5 separate regions of the Homo sapiens genome follow, and all the other regions are linked to region 5. Evidence: promoter capture Hi-C in 16 types of primary human blood cells and fetal thymus (Javierre and others, 2016). All regions are on one chromosome and are shown on one strand. The core of a region is centred on a gene start or on the middle of the fragment in contact, and the rest is flanking DNA. Distances in the headings are between cores, read along the strand shown.

What was found. Contacts are between HindIII fragments. The CHiCAGO score rates a contact against its expected background, and 5 or more counts as called.
Region 1: a contact is called between the fragment with the promoter of METTL21A here and the fragment with the promoter of RPE in region 5, in 3 of 17 cell types (total CD8 T cells, M0 macrophages and monocytes). The highest score is 8.3, in total CD8 T cells.
Region 2: a contact is called between a fragment that was not itself captured here and the fragment with the promoter of RPE in region 5, in 1 of 17 cell types (neutrophils). The highest score is 6.9, in neutrophils.
Region 3: the fragment with the promoter of KLF7 here is called in contact with the fragment with the promoter of RPE in region 5 in 1 of 17 cell types (M0 macrophages); the score reaches 7.0 in M0 macrophages.
Region 4: a contact is called between the fragment with the promoter of CCNYL1 here and the fragment with the promoter of RPE in region 5, in 1 of 17 cell types (total CD8 T cells). The highest score is 6.4, in total CD8 T cells.

Annotation. Positions count from the first base shown.
Region 1 is chr2:207,624,129-207,626,828 of GRCh38, forward strand. METTL21A (methyltransferase 21A, HSPA lysine) reads right to left here and starts at 1,266. Exons shown (of 4, transcript NM_001127395.5): 1 at 934-1,266; 2 at 101-276. The coding sequence starts at 247. RefSeq lists a silencer at 862-1,461 and enhancers at 1,732-2,436, 2,437-2,700. The HindIII fragment of the contact is 10,824 bases long and covers 1-2,700 here.
Region 2 is chr2:207,775,246-207,777,945 of GRCh38, forward strand. No RefSeq gene overlaps it. Among named protein-coding and RNA genes, the nearest start is that of FZD5, 6.7 kb to the left of the region's middle. The HindIII fragment of the contact is 833 bases long and covers 840-1,672 here.
Region 3 is chr2:207,164,620-207,167,319 of GRCh38, forward strand. It overlaps KLF7 (KLF transcription factor 7), which reads right to left and starts at 1,329. Exons shown (of 4, transcript NM_003709.4): 1 at 848-1,329. The coding sequence starts at 949. It overlaps MIR7845 (microRNA 7845), which reads left to right and starts at 1,781; the gene lies at 1,781-1,879. RefSeq lists enhancers at 1-339, 941-1,040, 1,048-1,756, 1,757-2,464, 2,465-2,700 and a silencer at 1,531-2,170. The HindIII fragment of the contact is 8,010 bases long and covers 1-2,700 here.
Region 4 is chr2:207,710,300-207,712,999 of GRCh38, forward strand. CCNYL1 (cyclin Y like 1) reads left to right here and starts at 1,341. Exons shown (of 10, transcript NM_001330218.2): 1 at 1,341-1,817. The coding sequence starts at 1,598. RefSeq lists enhancers at 533-732, 743-792, 1,145-2,141 and silencers at 1,013-1,462, 1,883-1,992, 2,005-2,164. The HindIII fragment of the contact is 3,390 bases long and covers 37-2,700 here.
Region 5 is chr2:210,001,275-210,003,974 of GRCh38, forward strand. It overlaps RPE (ribulose-5-phosphate-3-epimerase), which reads left to right and starts at 1,364. Exons shown (of 6, transcript NM_199229.3): 1 at 1,364-1,509. The coding sequence starts at 1,388. RefSeq lists enhancers at 1,373-1,422, 1,463-1,632. The HindIII fragment of the contact is 5,690 bases long and covers 1-2,700 here.

The DNA.
Region 1 (2,700 bases), core at 16-2,515, 2.4 Mb before region 5:
TGTGAATTATATCTCAATAAAGCTGTTCTAAAAAAAATAAAAAATAAAAGCCAGTCTTGCAAGTGTGAACGTTTTCAGAGGTCCCCCAGGGCTTACTTACCGCATCCCAAACCACCGCTGCGACTCCCAGGTGTCTCCAGTCCTGCCGGATCTGGATCGTGTGGTTTGCAAAGGAAAAAGTTGCAAGAGGCTTGTGGAATTTCTGCAACCCAAATTCCGTGGTCTCCTCATAGGGCACGAGGGCCATTCCGCCTGCACCCCGCCCTCTGCTCAGACCTGCCGTGCAAAAGAATCCTGGGTGACGCTCTGGCCAAAAGATACATTATCTGTTCTTAACTAACTCCAAATGCTTTTAAGGTCGTTTACAAGTTCAAAAGAAAAAAAGAAACAGGTGGAGGAAGCCTTTGTCCAATTTCTTTTGCATGGCTCTTCCGAATCTGAGTGAGATTTGGCTCGGAATTTGTGTCAACGGATGTGTTTGGGGAAGAAGAAAAAAAAAGCCCAGAACATTCCAACTTCCGCAGAATACCCTATACACTGCACTGCTACCACTCCGTGAATTCAGAACTACACAAGCGGCGGAAGCGGCGGTGATCGCCCAGGGCCCCAGAGCAGCGCGGAAAGCAGCGCTTCCAACCCAGACCCGGGCGCCCGGACTGCAGCTGCAGCCAGCCGGGCGGCCCGGGTTCTTTCGCTACGGTTTCGCTACCCACCTCCCCTCCTCCATCGGCTGCTTCGATAGTGATAACAATGGGACAGAACCTGCCCTTAGACTGGGTGTTAGCGGTTTGATAAACCAGAAATACATGGTCGCCGCAGTTCCGTCTCCCCGACCCTGGAAGTGAGCGACACTGGGGGCCTCCAAGCGGCTCGCGGGGACAGCGGGGACTCGGAGGCCTCCCCGAACTCCCCCTATAGCTGCCCCCCACTCACCCCTCTCCCGGGACGACCAGTGCGCCCTTCCTGCCCGGGGGCCCCGGAGCTGCGGCAACCCTCCAGGGGTGAGAGGGAGACCAGGCGAGGGGGGTCACAGGGCCTCTTAGGATCCCCAGGCCATACGGGGCGCCGTGAGCTGCCCGGCGGAGCACCCAGGGCTCGCCCAGGCCGGGCTGAGGCGCCGCCACGCCGGTACTTACGGCCCGGGAGGCGGTCCCGCGTGGAGCGCGCGCTCCGCTTTCCCCGCCCCGGGCTGGCTGCGAAAACCGCCGGCCTTAAAGAGCCCGCGACGCGGGGGCGGGCGGCCCCGGCCCGGAGCCACGCATTTCCGGTCTCCCGGCACCCAGCCTCCGGCAGGTGCCCCCGGAGCTCACGGCGAGGGCGGGGCCGGGCCGTGGCGCGGTGGAGGAGTGACGTTGCGGGAGGGGGGACCGGGGCTTTCCCTCGTGCGTCCCCAGGGTACACGGACGACTTAATCCGTTTCCCCCGCCGCCGAGGGAGGCGCTGTGGGGGCGGGAGCAAGAGTGAGATCGGGGTGCCGAACTGCCGCGGGTGCACAGGGAGAGCATGGGGTGCCCTGGGCTCTCCTAGCGGGAGAGAAAAGCCACCCACCTGGCGCTGAATGTGCCTCTCGACCTTTTCTATCATGTGCTCCGCCGCTCTCTGCCTCTGACTTTGTCGCTTGCGCGTTGTGCCTGTTTTTTAAAGGTGGCGCGTTAGCGGATGATGGAGACAGCTCGCTCCGAAGAAGGCATGGTCACTCTAGTCCCCGCGTCTCCACGGTGGGGTCAGAAGCGGCGTAATAGCCCGCTTGGCGGCAATCGAGTGGAAAAGTCACAAAACCCTTTTCAACTAAAGCACAGTGGGGGAAGTGAACACGTGGCGCCCGAGTCCAAGTTTTTAAAGTGGGGCGGGGGTCGGCGGGCTCTGGCTGCAGTCGGAAGCGCGGAGCTCTGGGCGTGCGCTCGGCTCCAGCCCCGGCCCCAGGCGGCGCTGCAGACTCCAGTGCCCCAGTCTCCCTCCTCCCGATGCCAAGACGCACCTGCCCGTGAGGACCCACGCTGGACGTGGAAGGTGCCGAGGGCCTGGTACCCTGGCCGCAGGCCCTGGCAGAGCGCGCGGCTGGAGTGGGTCCATTGAGTGGGACCGTGCGGGGACCGGCATCCTCCCGGGGCAGGCTTCTTTTTCCTCCTGGGGCCCCTCGCCCCACACCGCCCGCTGCGCTCTCAGCGCGGCTGCACGTTAGAACCAGCTGGGGTAAACCTCCCTTACCAGTCCCCCGCCCCAAGAGCTGGCCATGGGAGGGGGCCCGAGCGCTGATTTTTTTGTTTGGTTTTTTGCTTTTGTTTTTGTTTTTGTTTTTGTTTTGAGACGGAGTCTCTCTCTGTCGCCCAGGCTGGAGTGCAAGGGCGCGAACTCGGCTCACTGCAGTCTCCGCCTTCCGGGTTCAAGCGATTCTCCTGCCTCATTCTCCCGTGTAGCTAGGATTACAGGCCTGCGCCAGCACGCCAGCTAATTTTTGTGGGATTTTGTTTGTTTGTTTGAGACGGAGTCTTGCTCTGTCGCCAGGCTGGAGTGCAGTGGCGCGATCTCGGCTCACTGCAGCCTCCACCTCCCGGGTTCAAGCAGTTCTCCTGCCTCAGCCTCCAAAGTAGCTGGAATTACAGGCGCCCGCCGCCACACCCGGCTTTTTTTGTGTTTTTAGTAGAGACGGGGCTTCACCATGTTGGCCAGGCTGGCCTTGAACTCCTGATCTCCGGTGAT
Region 2 (2,700 bases), core at 6-2,505, 2.2 Mb before region 5:
AAATGAAGCCTAAGTCCAAATTTTGGCTCTGCCTTTACAAGCTAGGCAACCTCGGGCAAGTCACCTAACAGCTCCAGGCCCCCTTACTTCTCTGTAAAATAGAGTTAGAAATAGTTATCTACCTCCCAGAGCTATAGTGAGGAGTAAGTATATTTATATGGTAAAGAGCTTAGAACCATGTCTAGCCCCTGAGTCTCTATAGGTCTTGGCTATTATTATTAGTTTCTTCTAAGGTTCATTCTGTTTTTCCAGTTTTCTGTATTTTCTTTTGTATATTACTTTAACAAGGGAAAAAATAACTATTTTTTTCCAGGTGTACTTTATTTCTGAGAACACTGCAGGCTCTCACCAGCTATCTCTGGCACTTAGATATTGGTAAATTTAGTGCCAAAGCAGGGATCGTGTCACTTGCCCAGGATCAAAGTGCACACTCCTGATTATCAGTAACCATGTATGTGCACACTTGCTGGCTCAGGATAGAGGCCACCAGCCAACCCAAGTTCCTCACAGGTATTTCCAGACTAGCTCCCAACATGTCCTACAGCATCTCTGATCACTGCTCTTCCCATCGTATCAGATACCTCGAGACACAAACCAGAGGATTAAAACAATGAGCCATTTTTCCTGGGTTCATAATGAGAGTATCTTTTGTAAGTGGAATAATTCAACAGTAATCTTCAGTCCTCTCTTCTCCTACAATGTGGTGGAGATTATAGAAGAGTAAAAGCAGCTTTCTTTTTCTCCTCGGGGTAATGGAAGTACTGGGCTAATCTTTGCCACGCTGATCAGTGGCCCTCAGCTGCGCATTGCAATCACCGGGGAGCTTTTAGAAATACTGAAGCTTGGGCCCTGTTTAATCGGAGTCTCTGGTTGAGGGACAGGAAATGTGTTTTGGTTTATTTGTTTGTTTTGGTGGTGGTTTTGTTTTTAAGTCTTAACCCTGTTTTTGGCTAGGGTGGAGAACCACTGGCATAGATGGTTTTGGTGTTTCCTCAGTACAGCCCCAGACTTGGGCCTAGCTGAGTCTTTTGCAAGGAGGGTTATTCACATCAGTGTGTAAAATGGAACACTGGGAATAGGTATAAAGAACTGCATTCTAGGCTAATCGCATCCGAGTCTGTTTAGGCTGAAGGAAAAATTATATAAAGCAACAGAATTGTGATGAAGTGACAACAATGATGACCATTACAAGAGCTACTGATAAGTATGGAGCACTTCATAAGTACATGCACTGTACTAAGCATTTGACATTTTATGCATACCTTTTTATGCCTAAGAATCCTGTAAGATTGATTTTATCATTCCCATGTTATAGATGAAAAATCATGGCTGGGTGAGTGGCTCATGCCTGTAATCCCAGCACTTTAGGAGGCTGAGGTGGGAGGGTCTCTTGAGCTCAAGAGTTCGAGACCAGCCTGGGCAACATAGGGAGACTTCCAGCTCTACAAAAAAAAAGGTTTTATTTTTATATTAGTGGGGCGTGGTGGCAGGCACCTGTGGTTCCAGCTGCTCAGGAGGCTGAGATGGGAGGATCGCTTGAGCCCCAGAGGTTGAGGCTGCAGTGAGCCATGGTCACACCACTGCACTGCACTCCAGCCTGGGCGACAGAGTGAGACCCTGTCTCGAAAACAAACAAAAACCTGAGGTTCAAACAAGCTGAGTGACTTGCTGAAGCTTGCACACCTTCCAACTTGGAGGGTTTCCCTGGCCTCAAAGCCGATGCTCTCATTCACTGCAGCCTTCACTGCAGCCTAGCAGCAACCATTCATCAAGTACAGGGCCCTAAGAACAACCAGATGGTAAATCTTGAGATAAGCAATTTTTCTTGCTCCTTAGCACCTTTTTCCTGGGACCAGGTCAACTCTCCAATTCTGGTGTGGCCTCTTGTGGCGGGGTGGTTCAAGCGTGGAAAAGTCGAGGACCTGGGATTCATCTTGAATCCAGTAAGCGTCCAGAGGCAACATGTTCTTTGGGCTTTGCAGAGCAAGCAGGAGGTGGAGTGCCCCTTAAGCTAGATTATAGAACCTCCCAGTATCTTGGCAGAGGGAGCTTCAGTTCATTAAACACTGACTCTGCACCTGCTGTGAGCCAAGCACTGGTGCCAGGGTCACAAGATGAAAAGGCAGGAACTTACAATGTGGGGCATAGTGGGAGCTCACACGAGGCACTTAGCACAACCTGGTGGTTCAGGGAAGACCCAGGCTGGCCTATGGGTTAGACGGTCCATCAGGGTTTAGTATAGGAAGTAGAAACCTCTGTAGGTATTTATTTTTTTGTTGTTTGTTTTTGTTTTTTTGAGACAGGGTCTTGCTCTGTCACCCAGGCTGGAGTGCAGTGGTGCAATCAAGGCTCACTGCAGCCTTGACCCCCTGGGCTCAAGCGATCCTCCCACCTCAGCCTCCTAGGTAGTTGGGACTATAGGCCTGTGTCACCATGCCCAGCTGATTTTTGATTTTTTGTATAGATGGGGTTTTGCCACATTGCTCAGGCTGGTCTCAAACTCCTAGGCTCAAGCTGTCAGCCTGCCTTGGCCTCCCAAAGTGCTGGGATTACAGGCATGAGCCACTACGCCTGGCCTCTCTAGGTATTTCAAGCAAAGAAAAATTTAATACTGAGAATCAAGCAGACATTACACAATTTTCGAGAGGGCTGGAGGGATACATGCCAGGGGGGTACCCCTGGAGTATTGAGTTCAAGGGC
Region 3 (2,700 bases), core at 79-2,578, 2.8 Mb before region 5:
CCCTGGGACGGCTAGCCAACTTGGCATCGGTGCCCTTCAGCATCCTGGGAGTTTCTTAACTAGTCCTCTAAGACAAAGTCAAAGGCATGGAAGCACACATCAGCCTTTGTCCGAGGTTGTGCTGCCTAACTAGAGAAGGACCCTAAACAAAAAAGAGAAACAAGGACACGCATAGAGGGTGTTCTCTTTCTGGAGGGATCACACTGGGAAAACCTACAATTCATTGTCAGCCTCAGCTACATCTTCCCGTCCTCCTTGAGTATCTTTTGTCAGTGGGCTCTTCTCTCTTTTGCCTACCTTCTAATCTCAAAATCAAGCTCCTATTCTTTATTGACACTCGCTAATTACTGAAAAACACTCCGCTTTGCTCCTGCCCACCCTCCCCCGCCCCCCATCCGATGGTCATAAGCACCAGTTGAAACAGATGAACCTGATTTCAGGTATCAAGTGGGTAGAGCTCATGCATGCGAGAACGTGGTCCCTGTCAGCAATCGCTCCTAACACCCCAAACCACCTTCCCACCCGGCTCCTCCGAACCCCAGAAGTTCGGCAGGTCTCTGATAGGGGACAGCAAACCCGACAACGTGTGCGCAGGGATGTGTGTTGGCGACTGAAACGCAGGCAGCTCGCACCGGCTGCTCAGCTCGGCACTCTACGAGGTTAGGGGTGGGTGGAGAGGTAAGCGCAGATGACTGTTTCAGAAAACATTTTCAACAACAGACAGCCAAAAAGGAAGAAAAAAAAGTCAAACAAACAAACAAAAATTTCAACCCAGAGCCCACACCAACGCAGCCCCTGCGTCTCCGCCGCCACCACACGATTTACACAAGTAATTTAAATCATTCACCTGCTGCCAGGTCTCCTCCAGGGATGGTAAAGCTGAGAAGTAGCCGGTGTCGTGGACAAGTTGTAGCTCCTGGAATATACTATAACTAGCCAACACGTCCATGCTGCTGCTGCCGGGCAAAACGGGAGGCGAAACCCTCCCCCGAACACAGTTGGGGCTGTTTGTTTGTCAGTCTGTCTGGCTCACCCCCCAAGAAGGCAGACATCCAGTGGCCCTTTTGTTTTGTTTTGTTTCAGTCAACTAAAAAGGAAAAAAAAAAATCAATGCAGGAGAGGGAGAGAGGAGGTGAGAGAGGAGCGAGTGAGTGGGGTGGATGGAGAGAGGCATCCAGCGTGTACAGTGCAGACGACTGCCAGGAAAAGGGGACTTCTCCACGGGAGTAACAATTCCCTTCCAGGGCTCTAATCACTCCAGCTCGTGGATCAGGAAGGGGGATGCAAACTCACTGACACGAAGCTGCCATCTATTTCTGCAGCGCTGTTCGCTCCTAATGCAATCTTTGCTCTTTATTTTGGGAGGTTGCATTTTTTTCTCTCGCGATCGCTTCTCTTCCCCCCCCTTCCCTTCCCTCCCCACCCCCCACCCCATCCTTGCTAGTTTGTAGTCTTCCCCCTCCCTTTTCTCCTCCTCCTGCTCTTCCCCCTCCCCAAACTCCCTCCCTCCGTTCGGTTCTCCGCGCAGCCGTGGGATCTCGAGGAGGGCGTCCATTAGGCCGCGTGTGACCATGTAAGGTAAACAGGGGGCTCATGAAGTCACTGAGGACCAATGGGGAGCCCGGAGCAGAGCCTGGGGCGGGGCTTGGCCCTGGCGGCGGGCGCGGATTGGCACGCTGCGGATCTCCCTGCTGCCTTACAAGGCGGTGCGAGGCGAGCTATTTTTAGAGGGCTATATAAGGGGGCTGAGGCGGCCGCCCGGCGGCCGGGCAGCGCGAGCGCAAGGGACAGGGAGGGTCGTGGCGACACTCGCGCCAGCTCCCGGGACGGCTGGGCTCGGGCTGGTCGCCGACCTCCGACCCTCCACTAGATGCCTGGCAGAGCCCGGCGCGTCCGGAGCCCGCGCCCCTCAGAGGGAAGGGGTCGCGCGTCGCCGCGGCGGCCCTGAGGCTGACGGTCGGGAGGTGAAAGGCCGGAGTGCGGGGTCAGGACGCCTCCTGGAGGGGGCGCGGCGCAGGGGGCCGCGGGGAAGCCGCCGAGGGCGCGGAGCGGGAAGGAAGGACAGTGGCCACCCCGCCTCCGCCTGGGCACGGGGCAGGGACCCGCGCGAGGCGGTGCCGGGGAGGTCCTCACGTACTCAAAAACAAGCAGAAAAGGCATCCAGGGCCCCTTCCCGAACTCCCCACGGGCTGCCAGGGTGCAGAGAAGAAGCGCCTGAGGAGGAAGTGCCACACAATGGGAGAGAACAAAGGGGAGCGGAGCGAGACCGCGGCCTGCGCCCGCCCCCCGCTTGCGCACAGTCCCCGCCCCGCCCCGCGGGCGCCGCCGCCGCCGCCCTCCCTCCCGCGCCTCCTTCTGACCCCGAGCGAGAGACCTGGTCGGGAGTCCGGCGGCTAGAGTTGATTGCAAGGGGCCTGTTGCTCGACTGTGCGTTAAAGAGGCTAGAGGGAGCCTAGGTAGACGTGGGGCGCAAGCTGGAGCCGGCAGCTTGCGAGGGGGCCTTTACGTGATGAGGCTCACCATGGGGTCTCCAGCGAGGTGTCTGCAGAGCTTCGATGGTGAGAGGAGGAACTCGATTTCTCGTTTTCTGGAGTTGGGATGTAGACATAGAGAGATCTGTTACATCTGAGATGAAAACCCTGCACAATTCACGTTAGGGTTGGCCAATTGTTTGCTTGACCTTAAATGGTTAGTGTGGTT
Region 4 (2,700 bases), core at 91-2,590, 2.3 Mb before region 5:
CTGATCATGATGATCAGAAAATAAAGGTAGAAATCAAGCTTAGGGAGGAAGTGACATTGTGTGTATATATATATATTTGTTTATTTATTTTTATTTTTATGTTTTATTTTTTTGAAACGGAGCCTAGGTCGCCCAGGCTGGAGTGCAATGGCGCGATCTCGGCTTACGGCAACCTCTGCCTCCCGGGTTCAAGTGATTCTCCTGCCTCAGCCTCCCGAGTAGCTGGGAATACGGGCGCGTGCCACCATGCCCGGCTAATTTTTTGTATTTTTAGTAGAGACGGGATTTCACCGTGTTAGCCAGGATGGTCTGGATCTCCTGACCTGGTGATCCGCCCGCCTCGGCCTCCCAAAGTGTTGGGATTACAGGCATGAGCCACCGCGCCCGGCCGGGATTGTTTTTAAGGGTTAAATAAATATACCACAGTTGGAACACTGTCTGGCACATAGTGCTTGCCAAATGGTAACTATTCATCTTCATGGAATCAAGACTGTGGTGCCCCACTGCATGGTTCTCAGTTTTGCGTGAGAAAATCGTGCTTTCTGTGCTGTTTTTAGTACAAGAAGAGAAACCTGGAAGTCCCTGCCTAGAGGAGAGAAACAGGCAAGAAAAGGGAGTTGGCGAGTCCCAGCATTTCAGAGTTGGCAGGGACGAGTTAGGTCCCTATTTTATGGATGAGGAAGTGGAAGGGTGACGTGTCCTCGAGTCTCATTCAAGACCCACAGCCACAACTCTTTATGGAGAGTAGGACCAGGGCCCCAGGGTTGCTATGATCACGTTGCAGGTGAAAACTAACGCTCATTGGAAGACAGGAGCGGAGCACTGAGTTACAAAAACAGTTAACAATTTGGGTGTAACCAAGTTTAGTGAGCAAACGAAAGCTGTCAGACTCGGAAGAAGAGTTGCTAATGGAGCGAACTCTTTACTAATAACGGCTTTCTACAGAGATCATTGACACAGCTTCCAGTTACAAATGCCCGTGCGCTTCCAGTAGGACCGGAAAGCTCCCAGCAGCCAGCGATGAATGAAAACCCGAGTCTGGGATAGCGGCGTGAGGGGCTGGGCAGCTGCCAGGCGGGGGCGGGGCAGCAGGTCACGTGCCTGGCTTCGAGGCGGGCGCCGGAGGGGGAACTCTGACCATGATTGGTTCCTCCTAACCAGGTGACCGCAGGTCGCGTTCCGGTTGGCAGGCACCGGCCAGGGCCAGCGGCCTTCAGTCGGTAGGCGGCGGCGGAAGGAGGAGGAGCTCCAGCCGCGCTCTCTCCCGGCAGTGGCTGTGCTTCACAGCGCTTGTTGGGTTCCCCACCCCTTTTAAATAAGCCGGGCTGGTCACCGCCCTCGCAGACGAGTCAGCTTAAGGGAGGCGGCGGCAGCGCGGCGGTGGGGGTGCGGCCGAGGCCCGAGCCCTGCCCGGGGCCGGGCCGCGGGGCGGGCGGGCGAACCGCGGGCGAGGCGGCGTCTGCTTGCGCGGTGCAGCCCCAGCGTAGCCCGGGGCTGCCGGTGCCGGCCGCGCCATTGTTGGGGGAGGGGGCGGCTGTTGAGGGCGGCGGAGTAGGGGGCGAGCGAAGGCGGTGGCAGAGAGGAGCGGAGGCTTCCCATGGGGAACACGCTGACCTGTTGCGTGTCCCCCAATGCCAGCCCCAAGCTGGGCCGGCGCGCGGGGTCGGCGGAGCTGTACTGCGCGTCCGACATCTACGAGGCGGTGTCCGGGGACGCGGTGGCGGTAGCGCCCGCTGTGGTGGAGCCTGCCGAGTTGGATTTCGGAGAGGGCGAGGGCCACCACCTGCAGCACATCAGCGACCGCGAGATGCCCGAAGGTAAGGAGGCGGCGGATGCCATCCGCCCTCGGGCTCACCTCTGCCCGCCTCCTCCCCCAGAGTCCCCCGGGAGGCATCCGCCGCCTCGGGCTCCTTCCTGCCGGTAGCCGGCCCCGGGACGAAGGCTGGTTCTGCCTCGCGTCCCCACCCCTTATTCTTGCCCTGCTGCGTCTGGCCAGTTTCTTTTCCTCCTCCTTACCGTAACGCCCAGTTCTTGCTCCCGCTTCCCATTCTCCCAAGCCGGCGTGGGACCCTCTAGTCCGCCGCCCTTCTTGTTTGTAGCTCTGTTCATTGTCTGGTGGGACTTTGCTAAGACTTTTGGGGTATATTGTTTTCCTTTTCTCAATGGAAACTCAAATACCTCAACTTCGGAGTACTCATCCCATTCCCTCCCTTAACCCATCCAGATGGTACCTAAGTGAAGGAACCAGGTAAGGGTCTGATTGTTCCTTCCTCCCATCCGTGAAGATAGCTGATGCCCGCGACAGTTTAGACCCAGATGTTTGAGGATTTCTTATCTAGACTCAAAATAGAGGTTGCCATAGGAGACACTATATGGTATTCCTAATAGGTTAAGTCGGCGTGAAAGAAGCTGCTTTATTCCTTCCAACTATAATTTGAACACAGAAAGAAAGAAAATGGGGGGAGGGGCGTAAAATGACTGTGAAGGGTGTGAGAGGTTATTACCAGGGGTGCAGACAAGTTGTTTTTTTGAGACGGAATCTCGTTTTGTCGCCCGCCCAGGCTGGAGTGCAGTGGCGCGATCTCGGCTCGCTGCAACCTCCGCCTCTCGGTTTCAAGCGATTCCTCTGCCTCAGCCTCCCGAGTAGCTGGGATTACAGGCGTGCGCCACCACGCCCAGCTAATTTTTGAATTTTTAGTA
Region 5 (2,700 bases), core at 114-2,613:
CATCCATTTCTGAACTGTGTGTGAACAGCACACAAACCTATCACAATTTGTGAATGAGCATTGGAGAGGTGTAGGGGCCAAGGGAAAACTTTCCCTTCACCCTCCAAAGGTTTGCTGAAAATCACTGACAGAAAGAAGATTAACAGGAGAAAAGGCATAAAAACTTATTTGATTATAGTTTTACCTGACACAGGAGCCTTCAGAATGAAGACCCAAAGGTACAGGGGTGATTACCCATTTTTATACTTAGGTTCAACAAAGTATAGACAGCCATGTAGAAATACGATTGGACAAAATAGGCGATCTAATGCTAATAGACTGACCTGGCCTTGGCCAGTCTAGTTTAGATTCCTGGCCTCTCTGTGCAGCATTCCCTCCTCCTGGATATGGGATAGAACCTTCTCTAGAAGAGGAGTTTTATAACCTACAGTTGAGATGGGTCAAATAATTTATGGCCAGTTTTTACACAGAAAGGTGGAGGAAAGTTAGAGTAATGCTTTTGGGTTTTGTGTCTGGCTTCAGGGAAAGGGGGTTCCGGTTTCAATGACTCTTCTTAGGGAAGATGGGCTCCAGTTTCTATGACCTGCCTCCTAGAATGAGACTGAGAAGAGAGCAGGGCAGGAAGTCAGAGAAACACTGTTGCGTCTGAGGCCTTCACTTTGGGCTATCATTTTCTGAGCCTCAACAGAGGGAAAAACAAAAAAGGTAAGGAGGAACTGCAAAGGCAGAAAAAGAGGGTAATATAATAATAACTACCATTTTGTACTGAGCACCAGGCATCCTGCTGGGCGCATTACCTGGCTTCACTCATTTAATACAACCCTAAAGCTGGGCACTGTCTTTACAGATGAGAAAACCGAAGTTAAGAAGTGATTTGCCAGGTCACCCAGCTAGTATCTGGCAGAGCCAGGGTTCCTCCAGCTCAAAAGAAGAGCTCTAGGAGAAATACGAGGAAGAAAGGTTTTTAATTGTTGTTTTAAAGGGCCAGCATAGGCGCTGGAGAGGAAAGAAAGGCATATGCAAAGGGTGGAGAAACAAAAAGTGATGTTAAGTCAAGAGCCGAGGAGAGGGAACTGCAGGAGAAGCAAAGTGAAAAAAGGTTAAGAAACGCCTTGAGTACTGCGAGGACGTTAAGATCCAAACAGCACAAGAAGGAAGGTCAAAATCAGGTGTACGAGGCCCGTGTGCCCCGCCCCGCCCCAGGCGGACGGCTGACAGCGCCCCACCCCAGGAGGAGGCGGGACTTCCTCACCGCAGAGTGGCTGCTTCCGGTAGAATCCGGAAGCCTGTACGGAGAAGGGGCGGGGCCAAAACTGCGCGCCCAATCGGGGTGACGCTCTAGCCTTGCCGGGGACTCGTGGGTAACTTGCTTTTGGGAGCCAGCGGTATGGCGTCGGGCTGCAAGATTGGCCCGTCCATCCTCAACAGCGACCTGGCCAATTTAGGGGCCGAGTGCCTCCGGATGCTAGACTCTGGGGCCGATTATCTGCACCTGGACGTAATGGACGGGTAACTCCTCCGGGCTCCGGTCGGGCTTGCCGCGCGGCGGGGCGGATCAGTGCACCTTTATTGACTGCTTGTTGGATGTACCGCGTCCCTGTACCACCGAGCGCCTCACTCTGAACGCGATGCTAGAAGGGGTGTGGGGTAGGAGCCCTGGAGGCTCTAGCAGGAGCAGAACCGACGCGGTATCCTGGGTTGCGGCCGGGTCCCAAACCTCAGTTCCTCCCCTCCCCCCACGTAACGTGTGGTCTTCCATCACTTAGGACCCGGAAGCGACCTAAATCTTTAGGACATTTCTTCACTTTCAGCTAGAGAAACTGAGGCCCAAGGGGAGAAGCATGACTTGCCCAAGCTCATATAGCTAGTTAGTGGCAAAGCTGGGGAAACAGACTTCTCTAACGATTTAAGTTGGCACCTGCGGTTAGGTTCCCGAGTTCTGCCACTTGCTGGGTTACCTTGGACAAGCCACTAACCTCATTGAGCTTCAGTTTCATAATTTGAAAAATGGAACTACTAACAGAACCTACCGCTTAGGCATCTTGGAAGATGAAATGAGCGAGTACATGAGAAGTTTACAGTGCCTGGCGTATATTAAGTTCTCTATAATTGTTAATTACATCATTATTACAATTCTGATTTTCCTGTCTATTTTCTCTTCAGGCACCCTGCTCTTCAGGGAGGTCAGTTTTTTGTAAGTAATTTTTAAGCACCGTAGTTACAGCACATAATATTGTTTGGAGTCAGGATATTAGTTTCTGAAGTTGGTTACAGAATGAGGAAACAACCCCAGAGAAAGCAGTAAGACTCCCTCAAGATTACAGAAGATTGTGACAGACTTGCAACTTGGCTCTTCCTAGGTTTGCCAAGTAGTTCTCTGAGCCCCACTGTTAACTGACTATAAAAATCATAAATACCATTATCTTGAGTGGGGATGGAAAAATAAATTTATTTTAAATAGGTAAAAACCCTGTGTTCCCTCATTCAGTTTGCAAATTGGTGTTATTTTCTAAAGGTGATGATTTCCTTTTCTTTTTAATGTTAATCTGGCTTTGAAGAGTTTTATCTTCCATTGCTCTATGTGGTTAAATGTATTGTTTCTCTTTGGCATTTTACCCAGTTACCTTAGGAGTCCACCCAACTGATAATGACAAAACTTTGACCATAGAGTACTAAAAATAATAGGCCAAATGTGTAAAA